Linked DNA regions of Homo sapiens: region 1 is linked to region 2. The links are contacts of gene promoters, found by promoter capture Hi-C in blood cells and fetal thymus (Javierre and others, 2016). All regions are on one chromosome and are shown on one strand. Each heading gives the region's core, a stretch centred on a gene start or on the middle of the fragment in contact. The rest is flanking DNA. Distances are from core to core; before and after follow the strand shown.

What was found. The method cuts DNA at HindIII sites, captures the fragments that hold promoters and counts their contacts. A CHiCAGO score of 5 or more calls a contact.
Region 1: a fragment that was not itself captured here is called in contact with the fragment with the promoter of PTPN2 in region 2 in 1 of 17 cell types (naive B cells); the score reaches 5.3 in naive B cells.

What each region holds. Positions count from the first base shown.
Region 1 is chr18:13,139,862-13,144,581 of GRCh38, forward strand. It overlaps the pseudogene LOC646203. Among named protein-coding and RNA genes, the nearest start is that of LDLRAD4, 77 kb to the right of the region's middle. The HindIII fragment of the contact is 4,042 bases long and covers 1-3,809 here.
Region 2 is chr18:12,881,082-12,885,892 of GRCh38, forward strand. It overlaps PTPN2 (protein tyrosine phosphatase non-receptor type 2), which reads right to left and starts at 3,156. Exons shown (of 9, transcript NM_002828.4): 1 at 2,992-3,156. The coding sequence starts at 3,060. RefSeq lists silencers at 2,359-2,698, 3,079-3,368, 4,728-4,777. The HindIII fragment of the contact is 3,601 bases long and covers 642-4,242 here.

The DNA.
Region 1 (4,720 bases), core at 539-3,038, 260 kb after region 2:
CTGTACATCCCACATGTATTTGATGGTCACCTTAAATTCAGCCATCTCATACCCAGAAAGCATCAGAACACCAGCCTGCTCCGGGGCCAGCAGGTGGCCCTCCTTGCACACCTCATTGTCGGACAGCAGGGTCACCACACCTCTCTCAAAGGTGGTGGGCAGGCCCGGCTGCCTCAGCTGTGGCTTCATGGGGTGGGGAACTGCTCCAGGGGCCCTGGGTCCAGGCTCACGGTGAAAGCTGCTTTGTTACAGCTCAGCTGAAGTCCATTTCCGTGTATTCTGTGAACCACTCATTCACCTCCTCCTTCCAGTGGTTGGTGAACAGGAGATCCGCTTCACCCCTCAACCTTTTGCTGACCTGGTGCAGGTTGTCTTTGCACTCACCCAATGGGCTCCGACCCAAGGCCACCATCATCACCTTGTTTTTGCCAAAGAACATCCGGCTGTGCTTCCAGGCATTCCGGATGTCCTTCAGCTTGCTGTTCCACGTGTTGGCCACAGAGAGATGGAAAGGTACTTATCAGTGTCCACACGTTTCCGAAGCTCTTCTATCAGGTGTTGTTTCAATTCCAGGCCTTTCTTGGCAGTTTTGGTTAGGGACTTCCTTGTCATGCTTGGATTTGGGCATTGTTCTGAAGCCACGTGTGGTGGAAGATGGTGCAGCCCCAATGCTGGTAATTACTGATGGCAGGGGGTGGATGTGTAGGGCTTTATATTATCTCTCCTCTACTTTTGTGTATGTTTACTTTACTATTTATTTTATTTTATTTGAGACAGGGTCGTCTTGCTCTGTCACCCAGGCTGGAGTCCAGTGGCTCAATCTTGGCTCACTGCAACCTCTGCCTCCCAAGCTCAAGTGATCCTCCAACCTCACCCTCTTAAGTCGCTGGGACCACAGGTGCATGCCACCACCCCCGGCTATTTTTTTTCTTTCTTTTTTTTTTTTTTTTTTTTTTTTGTAGAGACAGGGATTTGCCACATTGCCCAGGCTGGTGGTGAACTACTGAGCTTGAACAATACATGCTGGGATTAGAGGGATGAGCCACCACATCCAGCCACTTTTGTGTAAAATGTTGGCTGGGCGCGGTGACTCATGCCTGTAATCCCAGCACTTTGGGAGGCCAAGGTGGGCAGATGACTTGAGGTCAGGAGTTCGAGACCAGCCTGGCCAACATGGCGAAACCCCGACTCTAATAAAAATACAAAAATTAGCCAGGCGTGATAGTGCACACCTGTAATCCCAGCTACTAGGGAGGCTGAGACAGGACAATTGCTTGAACCCAGGGGGCAGAGGTTGCAGTGAGCCGAGATTGCGCCACTGTACTCCAGCCTGGACGACAGAGCGAGACTCCATCTCGATAAATAAAAAATAAATAAATAAATAAATAAATAAAATGTCTGCAATAAAAAATGTTTTAAGTCAAAGAGTAAGATCACAAAAATAATACTCAGATATAACAAGTTTTTCTTCTGTGACTCATGTGAAGGACTCCAGAGGCCAGGATGGTGGTGAGAGCCACTTCCTCCATGTGGCATGTGGGTTGCCCAGTGCTCCAGGCCTGCCCCGCCTCGGGGCCTGGCACCTGCTGCTCCCTTGGCCTGGAATGTTCTCACCCAAGACCCCTGCATCTGACTCTCACCTCCTTCCTTGTGTGTTCCTCGCGTGGCTTTTTCGTGAGGTCTTCCTTAACTTCTCTGAATAAAACTCCCACTTCTCATCCTCCCAATCCCTCTCCCCTCTAGTTTGACACCAAAGTACCTTTCACCCACTGAGGTCCTGTGTGTCACAGAATGAAACTGTAGGGGCAGGGTTTTGTCCTGCTCACCAACGGATATCCTTGGACATTATGTATGTATGTATGTATGTATGTATGTATGTATGTATGTATGTATGTATTTCTGTTTGTTTTTCTTTTTTTTCCTGCTAAACAACCAAACAGGCAAAACCTAGCACAGCGGTTTGTTTTTTTTTTTTTTTTTTTTTTTTTTTTTTCTGAGGCAGAGTCTCACTCTGTCACCCAGGCTGGAGTGCAGTGGCGCGATTTCAGCTCACTGCAAGCTCTGCCTCCCGGATTCACGCCATTCTCCTGCCTCAGCCTCCCGAGCAGCTGGGACTACAGGCACCCGCCACCACGCCTGGCTAATTTTTTGTATTTTTAGTAGAGACGGGGTTCCACTGTGTTAGCCAGGATGGTCTCGATCTCCTGACCTCGTGATCTGCCTGCCTCGGCCTCCCAAAGTGCTGGGATTACAGGCGTGAGCCACCGTGCCTGGCCAACCTAGCACAGTGTTTAACGGTGGGAGGTCCCTGGTGAGTCTCTGCCAGGTCTCGGGTTCCAGGCTTCTGTCAGATGCACCGGCCGCCTAGGTTCCCAGGGCCTTCTATTCTTACAGCAGGTGGCCGCCATGCTTCTGACATTTCCCTGACACACAGGCTGCCTCCAGGGCCATCGCCAAGGACGGTGCAGATTTGCAGGCCTGCGTAAACCCAGCGGACTCCCTAGAGGTTTGGGAAGGAGAGGTCACCATTGTTGGCTCTACTGTGACTGTCCTGACTTGGCCCTCACTGGGTATTAATGCTTCAATTTCACAATGCACTTGGGCAGATGCCCCCTGGTCCTAAGAGAGGCCCCGCTCATCCTAGGCATACTTAATTGGTATTAGAGACGTCCATCTTTTCTGGATGGAGGAAATTGAAGCCTTGAGCCCATGTAATGTTCTCAGTGGAGCAGTTCAACACCAAGACATGCTAGAAACATTGTAGAGGCCTTTACCAACTTAGTCACCCTGCTCAGGGAAAGGGGCTGAGGCTGTCTCTACAGCAGCCACCTCCCTCTGGAAGGAGGAAGGACCCAAGACCCACACCCGCTGTCTACCCAACCAGCCCTAACTCTTCTTGTTGGCTCAAGAGTCCCCTTTCTTCTTCACTGAGCCACAAGACACAGAGCAGTGAGTAGCATCAGAGCAGCCTGTAAGAACCTGGATGCCAGGAACGGAGTGGAACCTGGAAGTTCAGCTTCCAACAGACAAACACAGTCAGAGCTCCCTTTTTAGAGTCCCTCCTGTGTAAACACACAGGGCATACAGGCATGACTTCCAGGAGCTTCACTGCAGCATGGCATGCACAGATAACACAACAGAAGTGACCTCAGTGCTGCTTTTGGAGGACAGATGACACGCATCTTGGTTCATGCAACTCAACACCGCACACATGTAAAATAGAATGAGTAGCTTTGTGTTGTGATATAAAAATGTAAGCTATATTATTGAGTGAAAAGCCAAATTGCCCACCAGTATGCAAAGCAGATTTACTCTTATTAGAAATGGAGGCTGAGCATGGTGGCTCACGCCTGTAATCCTAGCACATCAGGAGGCCAAGGCGGGTGGATTGCTTGAGGCCAGGAGTTTGAGATCAACCTGGGCAACACGGCAAAACTCCATCTCTACAAAAAATACAAAAATTAGCCTGGCCCAGTGGTGCATGCCTGTAGTCCCAGCTACTTGGGAGGCTGGGATAGGAGTATCAATTGAATACAGGATGTGGAGGCTGCAATGAACCAGGATCACACCACTGAACTCCATCCAGTCTGGGTGACAGCAAGATCCTGCCAAAAAAAAAAAAAAAAATCTAGCAGAGGACAGAGGAGTGTATACAGATAAACAAATGCATATTGTGTTTGCATCCCCTATATTAGTTTTCTATTGTTGCATAACAAATGATTACCCAAACACCAGGGGTTTGGTCTAGGTCCTGCTGCTCACAGCACAGAAAGCCAGTCATCAAGACAACCAGTATTGGCAGGGAAGAAAGCTTTAATCGGGTGCTGCAGCTGAAGAGATGGGAATTCAGTCTCAAGTCCGTCTCTCTGACTATCTAAAATTGGGAGTTTATATAGAAGGGAAGAAATGTAACTACATGCAGGAAAACAGTAATTAGGGAAGAATGAGGAAGAGGAGTTGGTCAACAGGCAGCAGGTGGTGCTCAGGCAATCATGAGGGTTGAGGGCCTGGCCACTCATCCTCCAGAGGCTGTGAGCTTGTAAGTTTCAGCTCCTTGATACTACCTGGGAGTCCTGATGGTCGGTTTCCTGAGAAAGGAACTCAGATAAGACAAATGTAACTTTCTCAAGTTTTAAGACTGAGAGGGTCAATTTCTATGTTTATTCAAAAGAAATGATAAACATCAGTTTTATGGGACAATTGGTCAGGTTTCAAAACTACCACAAACTCAGTGGCTGAAAATAATGCCTGCCTTTTTCTCACAGTTCTGTAGGTCAGAAGCCAGCACTGCCTGGCGGATTCTCTGCTCATGGTCTCAGGAGGCTGAAATCGAGGTGTCAGTCAGCTACATTCTCATCTGCAGCTTGGAATCCTCTTCCAAACTCATTCAGTATTTGGCAGCATTCAATTTCTTCTTGGCCATCAGCCAGGAGTCCCTGTCTCCTCCTAGAGGTTTCCCAGCTTCTTCAGCAGATCACAACATAGATGCGTCCTTTCCTGGTTGGTATCTGTGGGGGATTGGTCCTGGGTTCCTGGGACCTGTGCAGATAGCAAAATCAGCAGGTTCTCCTGACCTGCAGTCGGCCCTGCAGAACCCGTGGGTAGGAAGAGGCAGCATCCACTCTCCAGATCTGCGGGTTCTGCATTCCACAAATACTGTATTTTTGGTAAGTAGTTGGTTTAATCCATGCATGTGGAACCGTGGATATGAAGAGCTGAC
Region 2 (4,811 bases), core at 1,906-4,405:
CTGCGTGCCTACACTTTCCTCATCCAGTCTGCTAGCAGTCAGAACGATCTTGCTAACAAGTAAATATGATCAGCCCAGAGCAGTGGCTCATGCCTGTAATCCCAGCACTTTGAGAGGCCGAGGCAGGCGGATCACCTGAGGTCAGGAGTTCGAGACCAGCCTGGCCAACATGTCGAAACCCTGTCTCTACTAAAAGTACAAAAAAATCAACCGGGCATGGTGGTGTGTGCCTGTAATTTCAACTACGCAGGAGGCTGAGGTAAGTGAATCACTTGAACCCAGGAGGCAGAGGTTGCAGTGAGCTGACGTCGCACCACTGCACTCCAGCCTGGGCGACAGAGCGGGACTCTGTCAAAAAAAAAAGAAGCAAATATGATCATGGTATTTCCAGACTTACAATTCCACAATGAGTTCCTATTAAACAGCTCAAATTCCTTAGTCTGATCTAGGCTCTGCCTTACTCTCCAGCATCTCAACTTCACACCAGTCTCCAGGCTAAACTGTGGGTGGTTCTCTCAGCATTCCCTCAGTGCCTTTGTGCACTCCCTCCTTGCTGGAACAGTAATTCTCTTCACCTCCCTTGTCCTCTTCCCCTGGCCAATGTCTTTCAAGACTTAGGTGAGGTCCTCCCTCCCTCGAGAAGCTTCACCAGAACTCCCATGTGTACCCCTTTTTGGGAAATACAGGACTCCTAGGTAACTCAACTCCACAAGACCCTGTGCTTCAAGCTAGCTTTACATGTATCACTTTAACGTTTTCATCAGCTTACCTATTTACAGGGCTGCATCCTTAAAAACTGGGACTCCTGTCTTTTAACAAGAATCCTCAGTGTCTAACACTAGCACATAACAAGCATGTTATGAACGAATGAATGAAAATATGGAACTACAATGAGGCCCCAAAAGAATAAGCCCTAGAGTGAGCACCTCGAGGGTAGGAAACTTGCCAGGAGCATTCTCTGCTGAATCCCCAAGGCCAGGAGCAAAAGCTGCAACTCCACTGGGGGTCCGGGCATATTTGTGGAATGGCTGAATGGATGTTCTAAGGCCACAGGAGAACACATAGCTCAAACTTCCTGACTTGCTTTCCATTACTAACTTTCTTGGTTTGTGACCTACTTTTACTGTAACACCAGTGTGCATGCCATGGTTTCTACTGACCAAACTAATGGTCTTGTTTTCAACTAGGAAAAAATAATATGAGCATTGACCAACCAAGGAAACTACAGGATTCCTCGGTAAGAATCTATAGAAGGATTTCCTTATCTTTTTGAAAATGCATGTGAAATCTCCAGTGGATGCGAGTTAAGTTCATTTTTCTGGAAAGAGGAATCACAATTCTCATTGAATTTTCAAGGATATTAATGATACCAAAGAAAATTAAATTTCTTAAACCAAAATGTTAAGCTGAATTAAGTTATATTCACTTTTCTCTTTTCAAATCTATTTCGATATATAACCTATCCCTTAGAGAGACAGCAGCCTCTGCTAAAACAAATGTAACTGGAGAAGATGCAGCTGGCAGGCTCTCTCACATGAAGATTCCTACCAGAATTTGCGTTTCAGATTGTCTATAATTGGAAGAGTCCTTACCAGCATTCTTTAAAACTTAGATCCCTATTCTAACATACTCTGTATCATGGGAATCAGAATATTTATACTTCCCACTAATGTGTTCAAGAAGAAAACGTTACTTTCTGAACACATTTTTCACTGCCATCTAATTAAATGGAAAGGGGAAAAACCCAGGATCATCCATTTACAGGAAAGCCCGTCTTTTACTTTACACAGAGAGAACCAAACATCAGAAGCAGCATTAACTTAACCGTCACCAAATTCAATCTTGGGAATAATACGACAAGGATTAAACGAAGGGGAAAGCAGTTACATCATTTTAAAAGAGATAAAGTTTTGTTTGAATTAAAAGGTAGTCTAGTTGACATAAAAAAAGCGAATCACAGGTGTTTATACTACATATTGCATCTATGTGAGCTGAACAGGCACGATTAGGGCGATAGGCATCGGAACACCGTGCCCCCGGGGAGGGGATGAGGGCACTTTCTCAGGGCAAGGAAAGGCTATTTTGATTTGAGGGGGCTTGCAAGAGGGGATTCATTTGTGACACCCGTCTGGGAGCACACATGAAAGCTGCGTTTCACTGTAGGGAAAGTATACCTCAGTAAGGAAAACTATAAAGAGAATGACACGCTATCACTGGACGAACACAAGCAAAGCCTCTTTCGTTCCGGGAAGGTTCTATGGGGGCCGAACCCACGCTGGGCGCTGCTGGGCCACGGGGGAAAATGAAGACGGAGGGTCCCGAGAGCGCTGCCCTCGCCAGAGGCCACGAGCCACCCCCAACCACCGCGGCTCCGCCAGGAGAGCGAGCTTCGCCTCGCAGAGGGCTGCGGCGGCCGGCCCGGCGCCCAGAGCGGCCTGCTCCCACAGGTCCTGCGCGGGCGCCAGCTGGACCCGGACGCCGCGGCCCGGCTCGCCCGCCCCCGCCCTCACCGCTCCCGGGGACGCCAGCTGCCCACCCGGCCACAAAACACCCGGCCAGAGAAAGAGCTGTCCGCGAGCAAGAACCAAGCACAGCGGCGTGGGAGCTACGGCGAAGCTGCGGCCCGGGGGCGCGCGCCCGAGCGCCCCCACGGCTTTCCCAAGGACCCCCAGACCCGGGCCGCGCAACGCTGGTGGCGCATCCACGCGCTCCCCAAGAAGCCGCTGTGGCACCGCCCTCCAGAACTAACTGCGCTTGCGCTAACCATGAGCTGCTCAGCTCAAGTATGCTTTTTTTTTTTTTTTTTTTAAACCAAAAGGAGCAAGAGAGCGGTCAGCGCAGGCGCGCCCCTGACGCGGACCGCGCCGCCACTTCCGCCCCGAGCGAGAGGCTAGAGGCGAGAGGCGGGGGAGGCGGGAGGGACCCTGCGGACAGGGCACGAGTCCGGGTCTCGGAGGAGGTCGGCGACTGCCGCGTGGGTCCGCGACTCACCAAGTACAGCGGCTGCCAGCGACGCTGAGTATCCAACTCTTCGAACTCCCGCTCGATGGTGGTGGGCATGGCTGCGGGAGCGAGCTGGCGCGAGCAGAGCCTGCGCCGGCGGAGAGGCTCAGGCCCCGCACGATCCGGGGAGAGCGCTGGCGCTGCGGCGCATGCGCGCTGCGCGCCGCGCCCCGCCCCCACGCCAAGCCCTGTCGGCCGTGGGGAAAGTACCTGGAGCGTCGGACGTCAGCGCGCAGACTCGGCGCCCGAGCGCGGCGCGAAGTCGGCGGCGGGGCGGGGCGGGGCGCTCGGGGGGCGGGGCTCGGGGTGCCCAGGTGGGAGGGGGCGGGGCCAGGGGACCACCCGGCGGCCGTGGTCCCTGCGCGCGGCACGAGGTGAGCCGCCCCTTGGGCTTGCGTCTTCCGACAAGAGAGAGGCGGTGGTCCGTGGGTAGCGCGGGGTTACTGGAATGGGACTCCCTGAGGAAGTCCCCTGAGAAGTCGCCGGCACGCTCCGCCTTCCTTCTTGCTTCCCATTTCTCGTTTTCTTCTCAGCCTTCATAGTTTTTTAAAGTGCTGTATTTGAATATTATTTTAAACATCATCTAGGTCAGATTAGCGGCCTGTGACCAACTTGGAAACAAATTCCTCATTCTTTTCTGCCCTGGTGTCAGCTCCTGTAAGCCTGCAGATTTTATGCCAAATAAACCGCTGGAGCAAAAGGAAAGGCAGCCAGCCTCTCCCGGAATTTGGGAGAGGGATACCTTGTTAAGAAAACGTTCTACAACTTACGAATTAGATTTAACTGTAAAAAATAGCACGTCCTCTTTTACCAAACAAACGTACTAGTTAGGGAAATCATCTTGCTTCAGATTTAAGATAGTTCTTTTTTAGTGCTTGTAATATCCTGCTATATAATCTTCATAAGAAACGTGAAGGGTTAGGAAAGGTTTAGCCGTGCTGTCCAGTATTGGGATTTAAATTTTAAATATTAACTTAATTCCTCAGTGGCACCAGCCACATTTCAGGTGTGCCATAACCATGTATGGCTAGTGGCTGCTATGTGGCAAAGTACATATGTAGAACGTTTCTATCATCGAAGACAGTTCTTTTGGACAGAGCCGGCCGAGAGGATTACAATACTTGGGGCAGAAAAGTGTCCTTAATCACATAAAATAATGAAAACCCTAGCCAGAAAAAAAAAAAAAAAAGTTGGCTACGGAAGCTAGAAGAAATCGTATTAACAAAAAAGCAGTCAGCAAGCTTTCTACTTACATAGTATGATTTAGAGATACAGGAAAGCTTCCCCCGAAAGACCCCACAATGTCTAATGGTCCTTGGTTCTGAAATTCTGTCATTGAATCTGATTATTTTGATTAAAGGCATGGTATCTCCCAGAATATCCTGTGAATGTTCGCATTAGTCTGCTCATCAGATTGCTTTCCAACCAAAAAATACTGTGTTCTACAAAGGAGGAGCATCTTTATCTCAAAGCAGCAGTTCTTATCGCCAAGTATTCAGCATCTCTTTGGAATTCATTTGTCAGCCTCTCTGGTTCCGGGAGCTGTATTTGCCTATCTTAGTTTGCTGAGTGCAGCGAAGAATCTAGAACAGTGGTTCTCACACCAGCATCATTTGCATCCAGTGTGAGCTTCTTTGAAATGCAAATTTGAAGGCCTCACCCCAAACTACTGAATCAGAATCTCTGGTGTTGGGGCCCCAGGAGACTACTTAAGCAAGCTCTCCTGGGGATGCCTGTGCCCCCCCAGAGTTTGAGAATGATTGCTCCAGAAGAATACCTATACAGGGCTGCACTGAAGCCCGGGGGTA